Linked DNA regions of Homo sapiens: region 1 is linked to region 2. The links are contacts of gene promoters, found by promoter capture Hi-C in blood cells and fetal thymus (Javierre and others, 2016). All regions are on one chromosome and are shown on one strand. The core of a region is centred on a gene start or on the middle of the fragment in contact, and the rest is flanking DNA. Distances in the headings are between cores, read along the strand shown.

The links. Contacts are between HindIII fragments. The CHiCAGO score rates a contact against its expected background, and 5 or more counts as called.
Region 1: a contact is called between the fragment with the promoter of GLYR1 here and a fragment that was not itself captured in region 2, in 5 of 17 cell types (total CD8 T cells, naive CD8 T cells, fetal thymus and 2 more). The highest score is 8.6, in total CD8 T cells.

Annotation. Positions count from the first base shown.
Region 1 is chr16:4,845,760-4,852,015 of GRCh38, forward strand. GLYR1 (glyoxylate reductase 1 homolog) reads right to left here and starts at 1,529. Exons shown (of 16, transcript NM_032569.4): 1 at 1,469-1,529; 2 at 415-451. The coding sequence starts at 1,506. It overlaps UBN1 (ubinuclein 1), which reads left to right and starts at 1,722. Exons shown (of 18, transcript NM_001079514.3): 1 at 1,722-2,451. RefSeq lists enhancers at 973-1,032, 1,333-1,392, 1,688-2,530, 6,111-6,256 and silencers at 1,583-2,302, 2,313-2,402. The HindIII fragment of the contact is 6,120 bases long and covers 572-6,256 here.
Region 2 is chr16:4,256,576-4,262,745 of GRCh38, forward strand. TFAP4 (transcription factor AP-4) reads right to left here. Exons shown (of 7, transcript NM_003223.3): 2 at 5,961-6,126; 3 at 5,749-5,847; 4 at 5,204-5,374; 5 at 3,880-4,020; 6 at 3,515-3,670; 7 at 611-1,674. The coding sequence ends at 1,480. Among named protein-coding and RNA genes, the nearest start is that of LINC01569, 5.9 kb to the left of the region's middle. The HindIII fragment of the contact is 217 bases long and covers 2,879-3,095 here.

The DNA.
Region 1 (6,256 bases), core at 279-2,778, 590 kb after region 2:
GAGTAGCACATATGGTAACATGGAAAGAAGATTTAAACTTAGTTGGGACAAAAATACTTTGGCTTTTCACTAACCTACATTTAGACTTTCTTCCTGGATAATTTATATTTTCTTCTCCTTTTGTTACATTTAAGCATAAAGCTAAATTCAGACTAGAATTATTTCCGGGGTTAAAAAAGAAACTTCATAAACCTCCTCTAAATCCAGAAATAAGGGTTTAGAGAAGATTTAATGATCTGGTGTATACTGCATTGCCTTTTAAAAAATAACCGATACTAGGGGAAAAAAAATTCTAAGTGCCATCTGAATGAGCCCAATTTAACTCAATACTAGAAACTGAGAGGAATGCATCTTACATTCTCCACCTCTTCAAACCCAACTTCAGATCTCTTCCTTTAGTAGCAAGACACTCACCTTTCCTGGCCAAGGAGGATATCGGCCGAGTTTCCCCCTAGAGAAAACACAAAGAGTCAACACTTGCCCTGCAAAAGCCAGTCCATCTCCTTCAACCCACTCAATACGCAATTTATTTTCCTAAATCTCTGCTGGCATCCTCAAATGCCGAAACAAAAGCTTTCATAGCTGGGCCCAACACCCTCAGAAGTAAAATGCAAAATTGTATACTTATGTGCACAACGCATATCCATTCTTCTGTTGACAAGGAATACAGAACAACACAACTGTCAAAAGTCACTTGTCTAGAGCTTCTTAATGACGGGGGTGGGAGGACAGCTTCCTCTGTAAACACAGACTTTCCCTCCCTAAGTCTGGTTTAATTCAACAGGAGACCTGCCTGGCTTTGACAAATGCTAATGGAAGCCTTCCTCTGGGTGGAGAAACAAGCTACGCAGCTCGAGGGAGGCGGCGACAAAGTCTTGGTTCGGGCGGTTGTCTGGGACACAGAAGCAGACCGCGGGAGGCACCCAAGCGTGCACTGGTCACTGCCAAGCCATCGGTTGTAAAGGAGAAGTCCCCCCGCCGTTTCTTCGCGGGGCAACGCCAGCAGTCCGGTTTAGACAACCCCGGCTGAGCCGGCCGCACAGGTCGGCTGCATCGCAACCTGGGCTTTGACCGAATGGCACCGGCCAGATCTCGCAGGTCCGGTCCCCGGCGCTTCTGCTTTCTGGGAAGCCCCAACAAGACCCCGGGGACCGGTCGTCCGGGGAAGCCTCGCGGCACCGGCGGCTCCCTTCACGGGGGCCGCCAGTATCTGGGCCCCGAGTGCAGACCCCACCCGGCCGGCCTCGGGGATCAAAGCCGGTGCCCGACGTGGCCACCCTCGGCCTCGGTCCCCCGGGACTGGACTGCCCCTTCCGCCTGGCGCCGCTCGCAAGCGCCGGCACCTTCTCTTCCCCTCTCTCCGCGACCTGGAGCGCATAAAAAGGCAGCTCCAGGGCCGGCAGCGAACCCCGCGCCCAGGCGGGTAGCTCCCCGGCGCGTCTCGGTTGGCCCGGCCGCTCGGACTCACCACACCAAGTCGCCGAGCCGCAGACTCACAGCCGCCATCTTACCACCCAACCACCGCCGACGCACGGGCCGCCGGGAACAGCAAGTCGCCCCGGCGCCGCCCATTGGAGTGGGCCCGACCACGTGACGGGGGCCGGCTGTCACTGGCCACGCCGCTACTCTGACGTCACCGCGCCCGCCGGGGATCATTGGTCGACCGAGGGGCACGTGACGCGAGCGCCGCGGTCTCCGCGCGCCGGAGCGCAGAGACTCCCGGCTCCTTCCCCCTCCCTTCGGCTCGTGACAACGAAGCGCCCGCGGTCTGAGGCGGCGGCGGCGGCGACGGTGCGACCGGCTGAGCGCGAGAGGGAGCCGGCCTCGCGGCTCGCCCCGCCCCCGGGTCTTGGACTCCGCGCCCCTCCCCTCTCGGCGCTTCCGTTACGCCCGTTGGTCCGGCGCGGGCCCCGGGGCCATTCCCGAGCCCGAGGCGCTGGTCGGCCCCGTCGCAGCGCCAGTGAGCTACCCTGACGGAGCTCGGCGCGGCCTGGAACTCAGCCTCCGCCGGGTCTGGGCTCCCGCGCCCGGCAACTCTGCTTGGCCGCAGGCCGGGAGGCCCCGGTGTCCGCGCCCGTCCGCTCCCGCCGCCCGTGTTCTTTGGAGCGCTCCTCCCGACGGCCGCTTTCGGAGGCGCCGTCTGAGCGCGGGGTCCCGCGCCGCAAGTTCTCCTGGGGCGACCGGAGGCTGCTCCCCCGACCCCCTGGTGTCCCCGGAGTGGCTGCGCGGACGTCGAGTTGGCATTTCTTCGCTTCCTCCTGGGCCGGCGCGCGGCGCGGCACACCAGGCTCCCCTGGGCTCGGGGACCCGGCCATGGGCCGAGGCGCGGGCCGCCCGCCCGCTGGGAGCCACGGCTTAGCAGCCGACCGCTAGCTGCGCCGCCGCCCGGGGACCGGCATGAGGACCGCCGCGGGGGGACGTCTGCGGCCCGCGTCGGCGCTGGGGACAAAGGTGCGTGTCGTTGTCGGGTCCGGGCTCTCTCGTTAGCCTTGCCCTAGTTTTGCACTTTTGAAAAAGTTGTGACAACAGGAAGACAGATGCCGGGCGTAGTTTGGACACTTTAAAACTGAACCATGAACTGGGAAGTGTTAACTGCAGTTGAGCGCAGCGTCGGCCCAAACTTCAGCAGACCAGGTAGAATCACAATTTTGCAAAAGATCCCAGTCCCGATCACAGACTCCACAGTGTTAAGGATTGACTTAGACTTGGTGTCGGGCTCTTGTTGAGTCACTGCCAGCTGGCAAAGGTGGCGAGTCGACACGCATTTCCCCAAGGCATTGTGGTGGTTAGAGATTTCGGTTGCAAGTCGGTGTTTAGCGTACTGGGTCGTCCCGCAGCCTGATTTTTCTTGGGAGATCAGTTTCCCTGAAGTACCAAGAATTAGCTGCACGGACTGTCATTTACTGCGTGTGTATTTTTAAGACAAAGTGATCTTTAAAGCGTATTTAAGATTCCAGGGAATAATTTGATAAAAATTTAACATAAGTTCCTGTTTAAAAATTCTGAATTTGTGAGGAATTGAATGAGATTTTAATAACTTAAATAAAAACATGAATCTTGGCCGGGCAGGGTGGTATAAGCCTGTAATCCCAGCATTTTGGGATGCCGAGGCGGGTGGACCACCTGAGATCAGGAGTTCGAGACCAGCCTGGCCAACACGGTCAAACCCAGTACTCTACTAAAAATACAAAATTAGCCGGGCGTGGTGGCGCATGCCTGTAGTCCCAGCTACTTGGGAGGCTGAGGCAGGAGAATCGCTTAACCCGGGAAGCGGAGGTTGCCGTGAGCCGAGATTATGTCACTGCACTCCAGCTAGGCGACAGAGCGAGCGAGACTCGTCCCCCCGCCAAAAAGAAAAAAGAAAAAAAAATCTCAAATGAACATTGCACCAAAACCTAGAGGCATTCCCCTTAACATCAGAAACATGGTACATTTCTACCACTATTAGATAATAAGAATATATTGCCTAAAACCTGAAAGTTCTAGCCAGTGCAGTAAGACAGGAAACAAAAATAAGAAATGCAATTTTTGGAAAAGGGAAGACAGAATTCTCATTTCCGTGGATGATAGGTCTGCCTATTTTGAAAACAAAAACAAAAACCAAAAAACCCATTAAAATAAGAATTCAGGAAGGGTACTCATTATAAGTTGGAATGCACAATTTAGTTTTTCTGTTTCATCAATAACCAGTTTGAAAATACAATGTTTAGAAGGAGATATATATATATATAGTAAGAAAAAATTAAAAATTGCTGAGGATAACCAAGGGACAAGGAAGGCTAGTATTTTCTCAGTAACACCAACTGAGGTTTTTAAAGGGGGATCTTTGTTTTTTTCTTTTTTTTGTTTGAGACGGAGTTTCACTCTTGTCGCCCAGGCTGGAGTGCAGTGGCAGGATCACGGCTCACTGCAGCCTGGACCTTCCCAGTCTAAAGCCATCCTCCCACCTCAGCCTCCTTAGTAGCCAAGACTACAGGGGTGTGCCACCATACCTGGCTAATTTAAAAAAAATTTTTTTGTGCAGATGAAGTCTCATCATGTTGTCCAGGCTGGTCTTAAACTCCTAGGCTCCAGCGATCATCCTGCCTTAGCCTCCCAAAGTGCTGGGTCCGGGAAGTTGAGGCTGCAGTGAGCTCTCATGGTGCCACTGCACTCCAGCCTGGGCAACAGGAGTGAGGCAACTGTCTCACAAAAAAAAAAAAAAAAACCACAAAAAAAGCTAAAATCTTTCCAAGGACTTAGGCAACTCTCGTAAGTCTAATAGATAAATGTAAGTTTTTTTTAAGCATTCAAACATGTTTGAACTTAATTATATTTTCTTAAGCATTTTGAATTATGATTGTAAGTCTAACGTACCATTGTTAAATATATTGGATTCTCTTAAATGTTTCAAATGGCTTAGTAACAGCAGAACATTATAATGATTATAAAACAACCCCAAATCTAAGTGGTAATAGAGTACAGATTTGACTCACTTTATCCTGTAGTCCTATTTTTTACCTTCTTGGGCCTGGAGAGTCACTTAAGCAACTGAAAGGAGCAGTTTTGCCATCTAGGATTGAAGCTGCAGTCTCTCAGACTTGGACTGAGATAAGGTTATGTGTTTACTGCCTGGACAGGGGGAGTAGGACCTGGTTGCCAATTCAAGGATGACCTTCCTGCATCCCATTGGTTAACTTGCTGATTCCCTTCTTATAGTGAGACTGTTCCGGTTCTATCAGTGGGGGAATCTGTAAGCCTTCAGCTGGGATTTATTTCCACAACCCAGCGCATCACAAATATCCTGAGGGCCTTGGAGATTTCTTTTAGGGAAATCTCCTTTAACATCTTAGTACGTGTTGGGAGATGGTCTTTTGCAGCGCCAGCCTGTTACACTGCTAATCGTTTTGCCGCCTGATTAGAATTATTTTAACTCTTCATTTGTAGATATTTTGTTCCCTTATGTGATGTTATAAGTTGATTTTGTGATCATAATTCGACAAATGAATATTGGATATATACAAATACGTCTACATGTATGTGGATATATACGATATATGCTAATTTTCCTGAATTAACTCACATTTGTGATTGATTTACAACCAAAATACAGTGAGTTTTTTTGAAACCTGCCAAAATAATACATAGGCTGGAATGGCAAAGTATTATTTATAAAGAAGGATAATAAACATGAGCTTTAACTTTGCAACATTAAAGTATGAAACTTTACAAAACAGTGCAATACTGATTAAAGAATCTCTAAATACCGTATTAATATGACACATGGACTTCAGAAACAGGCCTTAGATATCTGTGATGTTGCTTTGCAATATATGCCAAATCAGCAGAGGAAGGAAGGATTGTTTAGTGATTGATGCTGGAAGAAACCAAGTTACAGCCTCTCCTCATACTTTATAGCATAGCAAATTCATCTGGGGTTAATGAAGTAAATGTGAAAAAATATCTATAAATGACCATATAGGCTGGGCTCAGTGGCTCACACCTGTAATCCCAGCAGGAGTTCAAAACCAGTCTGGGCAACATGGCAAAACAACGTCCCTACAAAAAATACAAAAATTAGCACGCCTGTAGTTCCAACTACTAGGGAGGCTGAGGTAGGAGGATCGCTTTAGCTTGGGAGGTTGAGGCCTCAGTGAGCTGAGATTGAGTCACTTTATTCCAGCCTGGGCAACAGAGTGAGACCTTGTCTCAAAAAACAAAAAACCTATATACACAAGTTCTTCTATAAGATCTGGTTGGAGACGAACATTCTAGGCATAAAAGAAATGGGAGGAGTCTCAAAGGAAAAGAGCCTAGTTTTAACTGCATACAAAGTTATAATTTCCTTGGAAGGAGGGTCGCTTGAGGTTGTGAGCTTAAGACCAGCCTGGGCAACATAGTGGGTCAGCATCTCTACAAAAAATAGAAAAAATTAGCCAGGCATGGTGGGATATACCTGTAGTCTCAGCTCCTCGAGAGGTTGAAGTGGTGAGAGGTTTGCTTGAGCCTGGGAGGTTGAGGCTGAAGTGGCTGTGATTGGGCCACTGCTCTCTAGCCTGGATATAACAGCGAGACCCTAGCTCAAAAAAAAAAGAAAAAAGTTAACATTTCTTTCATCATACCTCACTCTAAGCAACACTAAACAGCAAATAACAAAACAAGAAGAAGTACTTATAAGAGATATGACAGATTTTGTATATCTATAATGTATAATAATTTATGTATAATATCAAGAGCGCTTACAAGTCAATAAGAAAGTCACAATTTATTCAACCAT
Region 2 (6,170 bases), core at 1,737-4,236:
CATGCCAATCCCCAATAGGATGCAATGTCCTTGTGCCGTTATTATCGCCAATTTTTAGAAGAAGAAATTGAGGCTCAGAGGAAGCGGTTTGTCAGAGGGGGAACTGACCTCTGGCAGACCAATTCCAGGATCTTAGCACTTAAACACCACACCACGGGGGGGCAGGGGGGTGCTGGGGGGGTGCGGTTGGAGGGGGTGGGGTTCCCCTCCTAGGGGAGGAGAGGATGAGGCTCAGAGAAGTTACAGAAGCCCAGGAAGTGGCAAAACCTAGGGATTAACCAAAGCGTAGGGACCAAGCAGGGCCCCTGAACACCTGTGTCCTTTCCCAGGTTTTCGGAATCGGTGGCTTGGTTGTCCTTCTCTCCTTGCCGCCCACCAAAGAGCCACTCCCCAGCCTCAACACCATCTTCCATCTTTACAGAATACCCAGGGTCATCCCAGGGAAACTGAGGACCCCAATTTTTCATCGCAACACCACACACAAGCTGAGGGAGTAACTGTGCTCACACACACCCAGTCCGCTTTGGGGGGCCCAAGGAGCCCCCCTACTCTAGATGGGGTAGCCCTGCCCTGGTCTTCAGGCCAGCCCACACCCAGGAGACTCAGAATCTAAAAAACAAAGTACAAACTTTATTTTGTTTCTTTACAAAGGCACGGTGGCCTCTTGGTTTTTTTCTCCCCACTTTCTTAACAAAATATAATAGCTTCTCCTTGAACACGAAGACCTCAAAATTGTAAAAAAAAAAAAAAAAGAAAGAAAAAAAAGAAAAACAAAACAAAAACAGAAAGCAAACCAAAAAGAAATAAAAAACCAACAACAAACAAAACAAAAAGAGAGAGACAGACATTTTTGGGGTGGAAGATGAGACCTGGAGGCAGAGGTGGGGGCTGGGGGGTGGGAGAGTGGCGAATTCTAGTGCCGAGATGGGGAAGGGGGAGGGGGGCACAGCAGCAGCAAACCCCAACCAAGAAGCAACGGAGACCTCCGGGCCCCCAGAATGCCCCAGCCTAGTCTTACCCCCAACCATGTAAGTGCTTAAAGGAGAAAGAAGAAAACCCAAAAAGAGGAAGGAAAGGGGATTGAAGGCTGACAATCCCAGGCTGGCTCTGGGCAGGGAAGAAATAACCTGGGGTTTTGTTTAATTTTCCCTGTTCTTAAAAAACATATTTAAAGGAAAAAATGCTTTTTGGCAGAGAGAGGCCAGGCATCTCCGTGTCAGCTTCCTCCAGCCCCCGGGGCCGAGGCCCCGCCCTGGGGTGCCGATGCTCCCACACGCTCTGCGACACCCCAGCCCCGGGACCTCGGGTTGAGTGGCTTCGTTCAAAGGTCGATTTACAGTATTGAAAAAGAGGTCATAAAAGAGACCCAAATGACATCGTAATTTTGTAAAAATTTCTCACTCATTCGCCCATGTCTCTCCCTGTGGCTGCCCCGGCTCCCTCCAGCCCCCAGAAGGGAGAGGAGGGCTGGGGGGGTAGTCAGGGAAGCTCCCCGTCCCCCGACGGCTCCTCCCGGCTCTGGTCCATGGCGTCACTGTCTGAGGCCTCGGAGTCGGAGGCGGTGTCAGAGGTGGGGGCCTCCGGGCAGCTGCGGACAGGCTTCACGATGACAGCTCGCCGCTGCTCCTCCTCCAGCTCCTGCTTTTCCTGGGTGCCCTCGATGTGCTGGATTGCCTGGACAGGGACGAACCACTGAGAAGGCTCGGCCGGGGATACATGGCCAGCCAGGAGACAGTGGGGGCTCTCAGCCAGCCACTGTCACCCCCAAAACACATAGCCCAGAAAAAAGCCTGGCAAAGCAGCAGGGGAGGCCCGCTAGAGTACAGGAAAAACAAACTCCTTTTACTTTTTTTTTGGAGACAAGCTCTCGCTATATCACCCAGGCTAGAGTGCAGTGGCATGATCATAGCTTACTGCAGTCAGACTCCTGGGCTCCAGCGATCCTCCTACTGCTCCCTCCCTAGTAGCTGGAACCACAGGGGTGCGCCACCATCCCCAGCTAACTTCTGTATTTTTGGTAGAGACGAGGGGGTTCTTGCTATGTTGCCCAAGCTGATCTCGAACTCCTGACCTCAGGCAATCTTCCTGCCTCAACCTCCAAAAGTCCCGGGATTACAGGCATAAGCCACCACGCCTGACCCAGGAACAAACTTTCAAAACCCCTCTGTTAAGTTGAAAAATCCATTCTGGGAAGATGACAGTCCCAGTGCTGCTTAGAAATTATATTATATGTATCAGCCAGGCGCAGTGGCTCACGCCTGTAATCCCAACACTTTGGGAGGCCAAGACGGGAGGATCACCTGACGTCAGGAGTTCGAGACCAGCCCCTCAACAGAGGCCAGAAGCCTACTAAAAATACAAAATTTGCCAGGCGTGGTGGCACATGCCTATAATCCCAGCTACTTGGGAGGCTGAGGCAGGAGAATCACTTGAACCTGGGAGGAGGAGGTTGCGATGAGCTGAGATAGCACCATTGCACTCCAGCCTGGGCAATAAGAGCGAAACTCTATCTCAAAAAAAAAGAAAAAAAAAGAAATAATATGGACCTTTCATATGTTTTTGTTTGTTTGTTTTTTGAGAAAGAGTCTCACCGTGTCACCCAGGCTGGAGTTCAGTGGTGCAATCTCAGCTCACTGCAACTTCCACCTCCCATGTTCAAGCGATTCTCCTGCCTCAGCCTCCCGAATAGCTGGGATTACAGGCGTGCACCACCACGTCAGGCTAATTTTTGTATTTTTAATAGAGATGGGGTTTTCACCATGTTGGCCAGGCTGGTCTCGAACTCCTGACCTCAAGTGATCCACCCACTTTGGCCTCCCAAAGTGCTGGGATTGCAGGTGTGAGCCACCACACCCGGCCATATGTTTATGTATTTTAAAGCTTGCCTATTAACTTATTAAAGGCGTTTGTTATTAATTGTATTACACAATTTGCAAAGTTTATGAGCAATTAAAATTCGAGGAGATTGATGGATTTTTTTTCCTGTTTTGGCTTTTTTGGTTATTTATTTATTATTTACTGATTTCTGATCTTGGGCTCCTCAAGGGGCCCTGTTCAAGGGTGAATGCAACTGTAACTTCAGGCTTGACCCACAAAGCTTCCTCCTCTGTAGGAGGCCCAACTATCACCAGCCCTGCCACCTGTATCTCCATCCAGGTCCTAGGAGATGGAGCTGAGACAATGTTCCGGACCAACCCAAGAGCTGGATGCAGGAACTCTGTAACCAGGGGGCTCTGGGAGCAAAGGACCCTCTCCGGAAACCCCATATTGAGGGAAGGGACAGTCTTCCTGGCCAACTCCTCCTACTGGCGTGGTAGGCCCTGCCCCGATCTCTGGCCCTCACATTCTCCACTTGCAGATCCAGGGACGGGGCCCCCCAAGGCTTCCAGCCCTCCACCCCTTCCCACACAAGCACCATCTTCCTCCGCTTCTGCCCCTCTTTTCCAGTCTCCCCTAAAGAGCCTGTTCCCGGAGTATGACCCCCACAAGCTGCCCCTTTCTCAAGCTCAGGTACCTGCACGATGGTGTCCAGATTTTGCCGGGATGTGGAAACAGAGTTGATGACCGAGGAGGGGCCCATGGTGACGACATTGATGTGGTGGGAGGGAGGAGGAGGCGGTGCTGGCACGATCACCGTGGGGTGGTGGGTGGGGGCCGGAGGGGGCAGAAGCTGCAAGACAGAGGCCCTCAGCCTTTCTCTCAAGGCTTCTCTTGGCCCATCCACCTCCCTTTCATGCAGAGCTGGCCAATGTATAACTGCCTCTGCCCCTTTATATTAAGAAGCAGAGAGGACGTGGCCTAGGGAGAGGCTTCCGCCATTCAAGATCACCTGTCCCCTTCCCGGTCCCCAGAGCCCACTCCCGGGCGCCTCCTGCTCACCTGGGTCCGCAGCTGCTGCTGTTCCCGCTCCAGCTTCTCCTGGTGCAGCAGCCTCACCTGTTCCTGCTGCTGCTGCAGCTGCACCTGCTGCGCAATCACCTTGAGCTTTTCCGGGTACATGTGGGCCTCCAGCGAGCGCACCTGGAGGCAGGACAACCTGGGCTCAGGGCCAAGGCCGGGAGCACACCCTGCCCTGTCAGTCTCACAGCAGCTCATTCACTCCTGCTGAAAACCCTAGCACAGGGCGGGCCCCTCTCAACAGAGGCCAGAAGCCTTTCCAGAGCCCTTCAGCCCCCGGCTCCTCTCGCCTCCCACCTCGGCCTCCACTGGACCATGCTCCCTCCTGCCCGAGTCTTTGCCTATGCTATTCCCTCTGCCGGGAACACCTTTCTCTGTCCTTTGGTTAACTATGAGACTCAACTTCCCACTTCCATGGAGATGCCGTGGGGCGTCCCTTGAAAAACCCCTCCTGATGCCACAGCTCCAGCCTGGCCTTCAATATGGTTTTTTGTTTTTGTTTTTTGGTTTTTTTGAGCCATGGTCTCCTTCTGTCACTCAGGCTGCAGTGTAGTGGCACAATCATGGCTCACTGCAGCCTCCACCTCCTGGGCTCAAGCAATCCTCCCAGCTCAGCCTCCTGAGTAACCGGGACTACAGGCACACCCCACCACACCTGGCTAATTTTTGTATCTTTTTTGGTAGAGACAGAGTCTCACTATGCTTCCCAGGCTGATCTCAAACTCCTGGGCTCAAGCGATCCTCCCACCTCAGCCCCGCAAAGTGCTGGGATTATAGGTGTGAGCCACCATACCCAGCCCATCACGGTTACATTTTTTTTTTTTTGAGATGGAGTCTCGCTCTGTCTCCCAGACTGGAGTGCAGTGGCACGATCTCGGCTCACTGCAAGCTCTGCCTCCCAGGTTCACGCCATTCTCCTGCCTCAGCCTCCCAAACAGCGGGGACTACAGGCACCCACCACCACGCCCGGCTAATTTTTTTTTTTTTTGTATTTTTAGTAGAGACGGGGTTTCACCGTGTTAGCCAGGATGGTATCGATCTGCTGACCTCAGGTGATCCACCCGCCTCGGCCTCCCACAGCATGGTTACATTTTTGAGATCCTTTGGCTAATCTCCCCCACCCCAACGCAGACGGTGGCCCCCAAGGGCAGAGACGTGTCTGGCTTGCTCCCCACTCCTAGGCCTGGCACCGCAGTAGGTGCTCCTGTAAATAGGGCTCCACCGAGGGCCGCAGAGCAAGAGGCGCGACCCCAGGCTCCACGCCCTCTGCACCGCGCGCCGTGCCCAGCAGAGGGCGCTGCCTCACCTGCTCCTCCAGCATCATGCGCACCGAGCGCTCCTTGTCCAGCTGCTGCCGCAGCTCAATCATCTCCCGCCGCAGGTCCTCCGCCTTCTCGTCCTCCCAGATGTCCGGGGAGCCTATGCCTTCGTCCTTGTCCTCTGCCCGCCGTCGCTTGGGGGACGAGCCGCTCAGCTCCTGGGGACCCCAAGGAGTCGGTCAGTGTGCCTGACACCTCGGTACCACCACGGAGATTGGGGTTCCATCGCAGCCCCCCAAAGCTGCCCAACACAGGTGAATCTTCATTAGGGAGCCCCTTCTGCAAGTCCAACAAACCAGCCAAATGCCAGGAGAATGGGCTGCTTTACATAACAGTCACCTGGCTCCTTCCAGAGCCCACTCCACCGCACTTGACCGATGGGGAAACTGAGGCCGGGGCAGGAAAAAAAGTGCCTGGAAGTACTTGTCAGTGGGCAAGAAGGGGCCTGCAGCCACACCTGAGTCCCAGGCCCATGGCTGGGTCCAAGGCATGCCCATGCCAGGGAGAGGGAGCCATGAAGGACAGGGCGCACCTGGATGAAGCGCTTGAGCTGTGTGTTCTGCTGCAAGAGCCTGGTCTTCTCCTGCTCCAGGGAGAAGATGTACTCGGCTGTCTGCTGGAGAATGGCTGCCTGAGGGCGTGGAAAAGCCGAGAGTCAGGCTGGCAGTGTTTACCAGAGCTCACTTTCCTCTCCCAGCGGGAACCTGCCGGCTCCTCCAGGAAGCCCTCCCTGCTCTCACCCACCTTGCTGAGCTTCTCTCCGTCTGTGTGGGGGATGAGGGTCTTGAGGGACTGGAATCCCGCGTTGATGCTCTGCATGCGTCTCCGCTCGTTGCTGTTGGCGATCTCCCGCCGAATCCGCCGCTCCTGGTCCCGCTGAGTCTCGGGGGTTAGTGGAATGTTGGCAAGGCTGCCAGAGAGGACAGGGACAGGCTCGGCCAAGGCGCCCTCTTC